Linked DNA regions of Homo sapiens: regions 2, 3 and 4 are each linked to region 1. Evidence: promoter capture Hi-C in 16 types of primary human blood cells and fetal thymus (Javierre and others, 2016). All regions are on one chromosome and are shown on one strand. Each heading gives the region's core, a stretch centred on a gene start or on the middle of the fragment in contact. The rest is flanking DNA. Distances are from core to core; before and after follow the strand shown. Region 1 holds the start of TTLL5 (tubulin tyrosine ligase like 5). Region 2 holds the start of DLST (dihydrolipoamide S-succinyltransferase). Region 3 holds the start of EIF2B2 (eukaryotic translation initiation factor 2B subunit beta). Region 4 holds the start of AREL1 (apoptosis resistant E3 ubiquitin protein ligase 1).

What was found. Contacts are between HindIII fragments. The CHiCAGO score rates a contact against its expected background, and 5 or more counts as called.
Region 2: a contact is called between the fragment with the promoter of DLST here and the fragment with the promoter of TTLL5 in region 1, in 3 of 17 cell types (neutrophils, monocytes and activated CD4 T cells). The highest score is 6.9, in neutrophils.
Region 3: a contact is called between the fragment with the promoter of EIF2B2 here and the fragment with the promoter of TTLL5 in region 1, in 4 of 17 cell types (naive CD8 T cells, fetal thymus, naive CD4 T cells and 1 more). The highest score is 6.2, in naive CD8 T cells.
Region 4: the fragment with the promoter of AREL1 here is called in contact with the fragment with the promoter of TTLL5 in region 1 in 7 of 17 cell types (fetal thymus, non-activated CD4 T cells, naive CD8 T cells and 4 more); the score reaches 10.9 in fetal thymus.

The regions. Positions count from the first base shown.
Region 1 is chr14:75,659,583-75,662,507 of GRCh38, reverse strand. TTLL5 (tubulin tyrosine ligase like 5) reads right to left here and starts at 1,262. Exons shown (of 32, transcript NM_015072.5): 1 at 1,121-1,262. It overlaps ERG28 (ergosterol biosynthesis 28 homolog), which reads left to right and starts at 1,632. Exons shown (of 5, transcript NM_007176.4): 1 at 1,632-1,733. RefSeq lists an enhancer at 1,191-1,410 and a silencer at 1,521-1,570. The HindIII fragment of the contact is 4,369 bases long and covers 1-2,255 here.
Region 2 is chr14:74,879,993-74,883,248 of GRCh38, reverse strand. It overlaps DLST (dihydrolipoamide S-succinyltransferase), which reads right to left and starts at 1,333. Exons shown (of 15, transcript NM_001933.5): 1 at 1,233-1,333; 2 at 625-658. The coding sequence starts at 1,295. RefSeq lists silencers at 989-1,318, 1,175-1,401. The HindIII fragment of the contact is 10,796 bases long and covers 1-3,256 here.
Region 3 is chr14:75,001,417-75,004,605 of GRCh38, reverse strand. It overlaps EIF2B2 (eukaryotic translation initiation factor 2B subunit beta), which reads right to left and starts at 1,685. Exons shown (of 8, transcript NM_014239.4): 1 at 1,453-1,685; 2 at 1,211-1,331; 3 at 907-1,055. The coding sequence starts at 1,615. RefSeq lists enhancers at 1,327-2,007, 2,049-2,138. The HindIII fragment of the contact is 8,033 bases long and covers 1-2,416 here.
Region 4 is chr14:74,711,533-74,714,543 of GRCh38, reverse strand. It overlaps AREL1 (apoptosis resistant E3 ubiquitin protein ligase 1), which reads left to right and starts at 1,464. Exons shown (of 20, transcript NM_001039479.2): 1 at 1,464-1,611. It overlaps FCF1 (FCF1 rRNA-processing protein), which reads right to left and starts at 1,400. Exons shown (of 8, transcript NM_015962.5): 1 at 1,344-1,400; 2 at 992-1,059. The coding sequence starts at 1,346. RefSeq lists an enhancer at 1,287-1,566. The HindIII fragment of the contact is 16,377 bases long and covers 1-1,949 here.

The sequences.
Region 1 (2,925 bases), core at 13-2,512:
AAAAAAATACAAAAAATTAGCCGGGTGTGCTGGCTCATGCCTGTAATCCCAGCTACTCGGGAGGCTGAGGGAGGAGAATCGCTTGAACCCGGGAGGCGGAGGTTGCGGTGAGCCAAGATCGCGCCATTGCACTCCAGCCTGGGCAACAAGAGTGAACTCCGTCTCAAAAAAAAAAAAACAACAAAAAACCCCTGCCAACATTTATTTAGACTCTATGACAAGCACGCTGACAAGATGCCATCATGTTTCCAGTAAAATAAATTCAACAATGAACCGAAAGATGAATATATTCTCTTGAATCAAAGGTCCATATAAATAGGTGGGGGAGGGGAGGAATGCCCTTCCACTCTTAAAAATTATTCTTCCTAAAAATCACAAAGTTTGGTACGACTCTCAAATAGACGATGAAATTAGGAAATTTCCAACACTGCATTTCTAACTTAAAATATTTTTTCTAAAGTAAAAAAGTACATGTTCGTTGTGTGTGTCAGAAGAAGAAATAGGAACTACAAATAAAAGAAACATGTTTAAATGACCATAATCCCAAATTACTCAGCGATAATTACTTGCTGTCAATCCTTCTTAACTTTTCCATGCATTCATAAATACGATGAGACTGTAAATAAGACAAAAAAAAAACAGACCCCGATAATGATCAAAGATCTTCGGCGCAATAGGCAATGTCTAACAACTTCAATGGCTTTCTTCAGGGGATTCTCAACGGGATTTCTTGATCTTTCCCAAAATGCTGGGAAGCCCTTTAAGTTTAAACAAACAAAACCTCCAAACGGGAAGGGATGCCAACCTCTCCTAGGCTGCCTGCAGAGCGGGGAGAAACAGGTCTATCGGAAGAAGAGTAGAGATACTCACCTAAGGAGACTCCTCTCCCGAAAGGAATCTGCTTCTCAGCCCCACCCCCAGCTCACCCCAATCCCACGTAGGTCCGCAGATGCTCCCCCCGGGAAGGACGGGACGACCCCGCAGCCGCGATTCAACGCGGCGCGCCCGGAAGCCAACAGCTACTCCCGGGCTCTGAGCGGGAAGTCCTGCTGCAGGCGCCAGCCCGGACCCGGGAATGCTCCTCCCTAGGGTAGGGAAGCGCGCGGGCGCAGGCGTTTACCTGTCTCATCTTCCCATGGTTCGGGGCGAGCAGGCGTGGACCGCGCTCTGCGCCTACCTCCCTCCTCCTTCCCCAGGAAGGCTCAGGGCAGCCGCCGACGGCTGCTTCCCCGGTTACTACAACAACCAACAAGCAACCGCCCGCTCGGAGCCACTGCGCAGGCGCTCATAACGCTCAGCTGCGGACGCGGGCGAATGTCGTCACCGCCGCGCAGCGCGGGCGCAGAGCCCTGCCCTCAGCTGAAGGGAGTCTTCTTTTTTTTTTTTTTTTCCGCTGTTTTTTTCTCCGCCCCTAAGAGGTTGACTCCAAACCCGGAGTTCCGCTAGGTCCAACAGGAGGGCTTACGGCGTGAGCGGCGTACCTGGGGAGAGGCTTAGGCAGCGGCAACCGCTGATTGGCAGTAAAGGGGTTCACTCCCCATCTCCTGCTCGGGCGAAACCGGGACAGCCAATCAGAGAGAGTACTGACGGAAACGGCCCAATCCTGGAGCAGGGCTGAGGGAGGGGGCGGGGACAAATGGCTCAGGTGGACTCCGGGCTGGAGCTGTCCTGGGGGAGCTTGTTTGCGGCAGCGGCTGCTGCTGCCACTGCTGTGCTGGGGGCCCGGTCGCCAGGTAAGGAGAATATGGGGGAGAAGAGGGATGTAGGTGTCTGTGTTGCTTCTGATTGAGAGGATCCGGAGAGTCTGGAAAAATGGAGGTGGGATGGAAGGAAGATAACTGGAAGGCAACCTTTTGGGGGGAAAAGGTTTCGAGAGGCGATGACAAGGGGGAGCTAGGAAGATGGAGAAGGCTTGGTGAATTCAAGGAACGAAGGAATGGATGAGCGAATGAGCAGCCACTATGAGCCTAGCACTGTACAAAGAGCCTTCACTTTTTGTCATATAATTCTTACAATAGCCCTTCGGGTTGATATTTCTATCTCCATTTTGCAGATGAGGAAACCGAGACTGAAAAGTGTAAATGACTTACCCAGGGTCACACAGCTACTAAGTGGTAGGGCCAGGATAAGAATCCCTTTCTCCTGATTAAGTTTTAACAGCACACCTATGCTGGGCTGGGCTTGGCTGGGCTGGGCCAGGGCCAGGACAAAATTTGGAAATAGATGTTGTATACACTCTAAGAGGCCCTTAAGCTTTAGGGAAATTAGGTTGAGAAATTGGCAGAGCAATTCAGAAGTGCTCAGGCTCTGTCCTCATCAGCTATCTGTTGGGATTTCTAACAGATAACACTTCTGTGAAATGGAAGGCATACTTGTGCAGAAAAGTGGAGAGGTGCATCCATGCAGCTTTTCTAAACCCCGGAGGAGTCTCCTCTTGAGAGAGAGTGAGAAAATAAAGAGGATGGGTGGATCTTGGCCCAAATGATAATGGCCTGTGATGTCCAGTAGACCCTCAGTCTCTCTGATCTTCGACAGAGACCACCTTTGTGATCCAGCTCTCCCTGAAGGGCTCATCAATTCACCCTTCCTTCTCTAGATCTCTTTATTGCTTGTTTGGGGCGGGGAGTTGGCGGGGGGGGGCGGCGGTGTTTCACACTGTCTTGGGCCATTGCTGACTTTAATATCTGTCCCACTGGGTAGCAGAGAACAATACCGAAACTTGTATTGCCAAAGTGACAAAGAAAGCCTGTTAGTTTATTACCACTTCAGGCCCAAGAGGTTAACCTGACAACAGATAAACCGTGGACCAAGAAAATAATAATGAGGATGGGAAAAAGTCATTCCATTATTAGATTATTTATCTATTTTGGTTTTATTTAAATCAGACTAACTGAAATTACTACTCAACAAGAGTTGAACTAAGCC
Region 2 (3,256 bases), core at 84-2,583, 780 kb after region 1:
AACTCGGCTCACTGCAAGCTCCGCCTCCCGGCTTCACGCCATTCTCGTGCCTCAGCCTCCCGAGGAGCTGGGACTACAGGCGCCTGCCACCACGCCCGGCTAATTTTTTGTATTTTTTAGTAGAGATGGGGTTTCACCGTGTTAACCAGGATGGTCTCGATCTCCTGACCTCGTGATCCGCCCGCCTCAGCCTCCCAGAGTGCTGGGATTACAGGCGTCAGCCACCGCGCCCGGCCATGGCCATAACTTTTAAGTCACCTCCTCAAAAAGGGCTCTTCTGTCCACCCTCGTTTCCTTCTCAGCAGTTACAAAAATTTGCCTTTGTTGGCTTGTTTAGCAACTGACACTATCCAACTAGCCTAGGAGCTCCACGAGGGCAAGAACTGTACACTTCTGTATCCACTCCTGTATCCCTAGCGTCTAGCACAGTGCCTAACACAGTAGAAACTCAACTACGAGCTAAATGAATAAGCGATAGCTCGTGATTATGTAGCATTGCGTCTCACTACTCTCTGAACCAAACTGTCTTTAAATATTATGAGAAACACAGGCACCCCCGAGTTCCTCACATACTGCTCTGCCCAGGAGGAGAGCATTTTAGGTGACGGTAAGGGCAGAACTTACCAGGCAGGGAACGTCTCCCTAGAGGGCAGTTCCCCTGTTGAGAAAGAAGACATTATCGACGTCACCCAAGATGAAAAAAAAACCCAGCTTTTTCTTTTAAGTACACGCTCAAAGCTGTCCCAGTGGTGGTGACAGGTGAATCTCGTAACTCCGAAGGTAAATGCAACACACCGTGCTGGCAGACCCAATCAACACGCTGGGCCTGCCAAACTATCTCAACTTCCCAACGGGACTCATTAATACCCACTGATTTTAACAGAGCAAGACGAGACGGGCGCCGAATCCCGCCGGAGGACTCCGCCGCGCCTCCTCCCTAACTCTGAGTCAAGTATCTGGACGGGCGCGGCTCCCCAGCTCCCGCGCGGAGGGTGGGGTACAGCAGGAAACGTTCCCCGCAGGCTGCCTGGAGAAGGCAGGGGGCCGCTGGGCTCCGCAAAACGGTCCCGAGGGCAACCACGGCCCCGGGCCGCCCAGCCCGCGCGGCCTCCGCGTCCCAGTGCCCTTGGTGCCCGGCCCGGCCGGCGCGCCGCGCCCCTGCCTTCCAGGCCGCCTCTCTGCCCGCCAACAGACTCCTCACCCGTCGGGGCCCCGGCTCGGCCAGACCGTACCTTCTGGAAGGCGGAGAGCGAGCGGCTGAACGCCCGAGACACACAGCGGGATCGGGACAGCATCACGGCGGAGGAGCCGAGGGCGGGCGGACACCGGATATAGGGCCGGACAACAACCGGAAGTGGGGCGGGCCGCAGTACCCGCCGCCCGACGAGGGGTGTTCGGAGCGAACCACTGGCAGGGGGTGGGCGCACGGCGGCGCCCAGTATCCCGGCTGCAGCGCAGGAGTCCCGCTCTCTGGAGCAGGCAACCCTAAGGCGCTCTTGGGGCCCTCCGCACTGCCTGTCAGCCTGAGGTGGTTCTCCTGAAGGTGTATACGACTGTCCCGCCACCACATTGCCCCCGGGGTCAGGCCTTCCCCTACCCTTCCACAGAACTGGCTCTGAGCTTGGCGCCCTTCTCTCTTGGGACCCGAGGGCACCGCGCCGTTCCGCCTCTGTACCTTGGGAAGAGAGCAAAAGAGGGGCACGGACATTGAACTGAAACCTTGGCAGACATGCATGCCTGATCTTACACTTGTGTGGCCTGGGGCAGATGACATTGCCCCCCACCCCCAGTCTCAGGTCCCTTAACTATTAAAAAAAAAAAAAAAGGCACTTGTTACTTCCCTGTCTTCCTAACCCCGAGTCAAAGAAACAGAATCCCAGGAATTTCTAAATCCCATTGCCTTTTTACGAGTCGGATATCTTCACCAACTATAGCCTTATTTCTCAACAGCTTCTGATCTCCCCCCAACGCAAATTCCAGCCAAACTAATTGTTCCCCATACATCTTGTGCATTTTGGAAGTTGTTCGTTTGTCACCCTATCCCTAGAATATAAACTCCCAGCTGTTTTTTTAAGAAACAAGGTCATAGTTCACTGGAGCCTCGACACTCTGGGCTCAAGCGATCCCTCTGCCTCAGCCTCTGGAGTAGCTGGGACTACAGGTGCCACCATGCCAGGCTGACCTCCCCACTTTGAGTGTGCCATTCTTCCCGCTGACTTGAAGTGAAAGCATATAGCATCCCCTTCCCCTCCTTAAGTATTCAGGCCCCTTGAGTATTCACCTTTAAGGCTCACCTTCCTAATGAAAAAGATGTGCTTTAAACCTCTGGCTGAATTAGTAACACATAAATGTATGAATGAATGAATGAACCACTTGGTGCCGTTCATGATGATTTCTTTATCTGAGGCATTTTGCCTGGCCCTCAGGACCTTTATTTTTTATTTTTCTAATTAATTTATGTTTTAATATAAATTGAGACGGGGTCTCACTATGTTGCCCAGGCTGGCCTCAAATTCCATCAGGACCTTTACAGTGCCTTCACTCACCTGAACCCTGAAAGCACTGCCACTGAAATTCTGGAAGGATGGGCCAAAGTCCTAACTAGAAATAGAGAAAACAGCTCTGCCCTGCTGCTACCCACAATTAACTCCTCAGTAGCTTTCACCTGAATTATTTGAAAAGCTCCCTAAGCAGTTCTAAGCCTCCGCTCTCGCTTTCTCTAGCCCATCATCCTTTATATCTGTGTCAAAGATCCTTCTGAGCCTGGTGTGGTAGCTCACGCCTGTAATCCCATCACTTTGGGAGGATGAGGTGGGTGGATCACTTGAGATCAGGAGTTCAAGACCAGCCTGGCCAACATGGTGAAACCCCATCTCTACTAAAAATACAGAAATTAGCTGGGTGTGGTAGTGAATGCCTGTAATCCCAGCTACTCGGGAGGCTGAGGCAAGAGAATTGCTTGAACCCAGGAGATGGAGGTTGCAGTGAGCCAAGATTGCACCACTGCACTCCAGCCTGAGCAACAGAGTGAGACTTCGTCTCAAAAAAAAAAAAAAAAAGAAAGTAAAGAAAAAAAAGAAATCCTTCTGAAATGCAAACCTAATCCTGTCACTCCTCTGATTAAAGTCTTTCATTGCTTCTCCTGGTCGGATAAAGCAAGGGAGATAAAGTTTATCTCCCTTGTAGGATAAAGTACAAACTCCTCAACTTGGCCAGGCACCTGATAATCAGGCCTCTGATTATGTTCTGATTCTCT
Region 3 (3,189 bases), core at 436-2,935, 660 kb after region 1:
TGCACTGCCCACCTAGCAGACCCTGGTACCACAGGGTTAATGTGCTTAAAGTGAAATGTCACAATTTCTTTTTTTTTAATAGAGACAGGGTCCCACTATGTTGCCCAGGCTGGTTTTGAACTCCTGGTCTCAAGCAATCCACTCACCTTGGCCTCCCAAAGTTGTGGGATTACAGGTGTGAGCCACCATGCCCAGCTATGTCACAATTTCTTAAAAGCCCCACTCCTCTGGGATTTTCTGCCTGCCCTCTTCCAGAAGTACCCCTACCTATGAACCACCTCTGTCACTACAGAGCTCCTTACAACTGATTTTGAAGACAGTAGATTCAGCCAAGGAATGGCAATCTGGGAAATCCTAAAGTGCTGAGAATAGGGTAAAGAGAGCTTCGGCCTAAAAGAAGTCTTCCTCCAAAAGGTGGCCACAACACTTCTACATGAGAGAGACTGGCCAGAGAAGAAAAAATGGGGGAGCAATTTGGAAGCAGCTTCTTCATCCTCTGATTACAATGAATATCTGCAAGTCACTTGGACCGCAATGACAAGGGGGATAGAAATGGTATACGTGTACGTGTGTATAAAAATTCAGATAGTGAAGGAGGTCTATCGACCTTGGCTCTCTAGGGAGTTCATTTTGTTTCTTTACAATGAAAATAAAACTCTGTCCTAATAGAGTCTGTTCCACTCCACAGATCTGTAGTCTATCAAGGGTTGGTCTGTAAGGAAAAGTAGAGAGGATTACTTTGGTCCTGTCACCTGTTGCAACATTTCCTAATCAGGAAGGAGGACAAACCTCTGAGAACCAGAAGACAGCTAATCTCCCATCTCTGCTAATGAACAACCTTCAGAGGCTTCTGTTCCCTTATGTGCCTGTGACCAGTCCCATTTTCCCAGCGATCAGGCCTCTTACCCAGCTCCACTAGCAGCTCATTAATCGCCTCAATGATGTTGGACTGGAGTTGGGCATAATGGAAGCTGAAATCCTCGTTTAGGCCTCCGGATGTCAACAGTTTGTGCAGGGACTCCTGCTGATCACTCTCGTCGCTGCGTCCATGGAGTCTATAGAGGCAACAAGACCCAAAGAGAGAGGTGGGGAGGAGTGGTCAGGCAGGTAACAAGGGCTGTTCAGCTCCAATAAAGTCTCCGAGCAGGTAGAGGGGCCCGTGCAAAAAGTGTCACTGGATCCAACCAGGAGCCCAGGACGTGAGCCTGACCTGCCATACTCCTCCCGGATAATCTTGAGCACTCTCCGCACCATGTTGCCCACGGTGGTCTCGGAGGGCTGAGCGGCCGTCATCCTCCTGCCCTCTCTGCGGATCAGCTCCATCAGCTCCCCTACAGTCCAAAAGAGAGAGGATAAGAGGAGCCAACGCGAAGTGAGGCCTGGGAAATTTTCAGCCCTGGGATCGGGAACAGACAGGGGCCAGGTTCGCCGGCGGAGGCAGGCCGGCCTCACCCGCGTTGCTCCAGCGGTGGTCCGTGATGATCTGGCGCAGCAACCCTAGGGTCTCCCGAGCCATTTCCTCGGAGCTGCGCGGCCCACCACCCCGCTTCAGGGTCTCCACGAAGCTCTCGATCCTCTCTGACAACTCCGAGCCCTTCGCTGCGGATCCCGGCATCTTTAAGGTAGCTGCCTTCAGCCTTCACCGGCGGAATCCACACCTGCCAGACCACACAGTTTGCACTTCCGGGGCGGGCGAGGTCGGCTTCCGCTGTGAGGGGATGGGGGGAAACCTCAAGTTTGAGTGGAAGCCGGCTACGCCCTTCGTTGCCGATCTCCCGCCCCCTTCCTCTGCCTGAGCCAATCAGAGACGTGGGGCTCGGGTTGTTCAGTTATAACCGGGCGTCCGCGCGCCCCCGCGCCTCGGGGGCTGGAGGATCGGAAGCGGCCTTTCTTGGCTCAGCCGACGGTGAACGGAAGTAACCCGTCAGGCCTGTAGAGGGTGGCTGGTCCCGTTGCTATGGGAGCAGCAAGTCTCTACGCGCCCCTCACCGCGACTTAAGGCTACACTGAAGAAGTTGCGGCACTCCCTCCTGTCTTCCCAGCTCGGTGACTGCCCGAGCTGTCACTCCCGAGTGTCAGCTGACACTGACGCTCTGAATGCATGTCCAGGGTCGGCTGCCCCTTGGGCAGACGTCTCACTTTTGTTCTGTTACATTGCTTGGTACCGTTTGCGCCTGTGTCTAGGAGGTTCATGTCTCTGAAAACAAGGACGATATCTTTTGTTGCTTTTGTATTCTCAAGGCCTAACACGTCTAACAGAAGACGGCGAAATTAGAGATGAGGAAGATTAAGGAGATTCAAAGTGGGAGCCAATACAGAAGCAAAGATGACATCCTCTGATTTGGACAGAATTGTCCTCCTACAGAGAGGCCAGAGAGTATAACATAATACCAAGAGTTACCATTTACTTAAAGCTTACTGGTTCTTGGGCACTGTGTGTGAATTGTCTCAGTTAATAAGGTCTGAAATAGGTCCTCTTATCCCCATTTTACAGATTGGGAAACAGACCCACAGAATTTAAGCAGTTAATAAAGGATTGGGTTCATACTTAAATCCAGGTCTACCTGAACCCAAAGTATGTGTGTAATAGAAATCTCTATTTCCTTAAGATAAATTCTTCAAAGTGGAATCCATAGGCGAGCACATTTTAGACTTTTGTTACAATTAACAAATTGCCCTCCAAAAAGATTATGTCAATACCAAAGTTAGCCAAAGGTAGTACAAAGAAAAGAAAATTACAGATTAATATCTCTCATGAACATAGAAGCAAAAATTGCAACAAATTATTAGCACATCAAATCCTGCAATACATAAAAAAAGAATAATATGTAATTACAAAGTGAAACATAAACCTGGAATGCAAAGCTGATTAAACACTTAAAAATCAATGTAATATGCCATATTAACAATCTGAGAAGTAAAACCACATGATCATGTCAATTGATGCAGGAAGAAACATTTGACAAAATTCAATATTCATGGTACAAACTCTCAGAAAACTAGAACAAAAGGGAACTTCCTGAACTCGATAAAGGGTATCTACAAAATCCTACACCTAAAAATCATACTTCACAGTAAAAGATTGCTTTCTCCCTAAGATCAGGACAAGGCAAGGATGTCTACTTTCACCACTCCTATTTAAATTATACGTGAAGTCCTAGCCCTTGCAATAAGGCAAGAAAAAGAAAA
Region 4 (3,011 bases), core at 215-2,714, 950 kb after region 1:
GGGTGACAGTTATCTTCTGAAGATTCAGATGCTTTAACTTTTGGGGGAAAAGTATTACCCCATATGCTTCTTATAAAGGGCTAAAATGTAAAAACGCATATACAGAACTTAACCCTTAACTAGAAAGAAATTATTATTAATGGAGTGTCATTCCTAAAAATTACACAATACATCCACACTAAAGGCTGAGAATAATAATTCTGAAGGTTTTAACGACTATTCTCTTATTCTGAGACTCTTTTTTGTATTTTTAGTGGAGACAGGGTTTCACCGTGTTGGCCAGGCTGGTTTTGAACTCCTCACCTCAGGTGATCCACCCGCCTCAGCCTCCCAAAGTGCTGGGATTACAGGCGTGAGCCACTGCGCCCGGCTTTCTGAGACTCTTAAACTCAGTGAAGATCAGTCTTTATTTAATAGCTATGCTTATTCTACACTTAAGCAGGGACACCGCTTTGATCCTCTTCATACTAGGGAATTTCACTTCACTTTCTTCTTCCACAGTGATTTGGATTCTTATATTAGTAAGACTTATAAAATGGAGATATCTTGGAGTTTTCCCATTTTCTCTGACAAAAATATTTGAGTACCAGGCACTGGAAACGCCAGACAAACAAGGTCTCTAACCTTGCCATCTTTCAACAAGAAACACTCCCCTCGCCCCACCCCAGGGGAATGTAGTAGTGTAATGGTAAAAACATAAAGAGAACTATACGGACTTCACCGAACTGACATGAGGTTTAAATGCGATATGGCAGACAAAGCATATAACGGTAGAAAAAGTGAACACTTAAGAAATGTTTAATTCCCATCGCCTTTCCCAGTGTGATCGCTCAGCAGCTAAATTACTGTTAAACACTGGCTATCTCATGCTATATAAATCTAAGACACGATAATAAGCAAAAAACAAAATAATAACAACAAACATTTTTACTACTTATCCTCTCTAGACTCTTATTAGAATATCCCTGGGCAGTTGATTCCAGACACTCACAGCCTCTGATCTCTGAGACTAAGCATTCGCTTCATGGTCGCATACTTCCTTGTTTTCTTTTGCTTCCCCTTGAAACAGAAATTTTAGAATTAAAAAAGTTGGAAACACACGGCATCTTTTAAAGTCTCTTCTTTTCTCTTGTCTATTGCCTTCCCTTCTTGCCTCAAATAACCCAGACCCTCTTCCCCACTCTGTAAAGCATAACAGTCACCGCTTGGAGAAGTTTAAGAGCTAAGACCAGAATGAAAATATGCTAGGATAATGTGAAGGAAATTTGGCCACGGTCTGACTACCTCCTTCTCCACCCAAAAAGTGGCCTGATAACGTCCCTTCTTGGACCGTCTTCTCTCACCATGGTCACGCCAAACTCCTGGTTCTTCCGTAATCACCAACGGCGCAATACTTCTACGTCATTCACATACTGCTTCCGGCAAAGGATAGCCCGGAAGCGGAAACTCCTTGGGGAAAGGGCAATCCCCCGAGCCGGTTCCCAGGCCGGGTGGAGACCAACTCTGGGGTCTGTTGGTGGGAGAGTGGGGAGCCCGTCTTCTGCTGAGTGCTGCCGCCCCTTCCCAGGACAGCGGAGGTGGAACTTCGTCGCGCTGCAACCCCCGGCTCGGGTAACGTTTCTCTCCAGCCTTAGGCAGAGCCCAGAAGACCTGCCTTTACCAGAGTTCCAGAGAGAGAGGGAGGAAAAGGGTAGGGGGGTTCAGACTCCTGGTTTGCCCAGTAGTTTGGGGGAACACATTCTCCTCACCCTGTAGCGTTGGGGTATCCGGTGTCTATGGTCCAGCCCTGAGGCTGTGGTTCCTATTTGGTTTTCCTAGCCGATATGGTGCTTTGTGCAGCTAGGTGGATGATTGTTCTCGAGTATATACCGTGTACTCCTCTCGGTGAAGAGAGAAATGAAGCAGTGTTTGAGGGCCTAGACTATCGCTAGAGAATTGGGGCATAAGCTTGCATATGTTACTACTTACCCAAGCCAAGAAAATGGTGAGATACAATGCACATTTATTGTGAAGCCTTGGTGTGTCATCTTTAAGTAAAAAGGGAGAATTTGTGAGAACAAGGAGCGAAAGGTAGCTTTTTTCTTTGAGTACCTGCTATGTATTCCAGTGGTTCTTAACTTTTTGGAGATAACTTATTTCTTGAAAGTTTGTGGAAAGCCAGGAACAATTCTTTAAAAAATGGGCACACATACAGTTTGTAATACACTTAATGAGATTGGTGGACTCTGAAGCCCATCCGTGGACCCTCTGGGTGTCTGTAAACTTTAAATGAAAACCCCCATCCTGTATACTGTACTTGTCACTTTATTCATATTACCTTCTTTGACCTTCTCAATAACATAAATTCTTTTATTTTACATATGGGGAAATTGAGCCCCAGACTTTGTTCAGGGGTCTGTTTGAGTCTCGTGATTCCAAAGTCTGTACTTGTATTTCTTTTTTTCTTTTTCTTTCTTTCTTTCTTTCTTTTTTTTTCTTTTTTTTTTTTTTTTTTTTTTTTTTTTTGCACTTTGTCTTCCATTCTCCAGCTACTGATCAAGCTGGGAACGGAATGGGTACCTCTGTCATACTTTTCTTATTGCATGATGCTATCCTAGAGTTGGAAGTAAAATATGTTATCAGGTTTAAAAAAGAAGGTGACCATTGTATAACCCTTATGATGAAAACACGTTTATTGTTTAACACGAACTTTGGAGTCTGACTGATGGGGTTAAAATCCTTGCTCTGCCTTATAACTCGCCATGACATTGGGTGAGTTAATCTATCTGCATCTCAGTTTCTTTATCTGTAAAATGGAGATAATCATAGTAGCACTCTTTTATTGGGATGTTATCAGGACTTATGTTTATTCATAGTTAACATGCGAGGTCCCTAGAAGAGTGTAAACCAGACTACTCAGAGTGTTTTCTGTTGTTACCATTGTGTGTCTTCCAACTTGAGGATGTGTGGCAGGGTTGGAATTTTATGCCAATTTTATTTTATTTTATTTTATTTTATTTTTGAGACAGAGC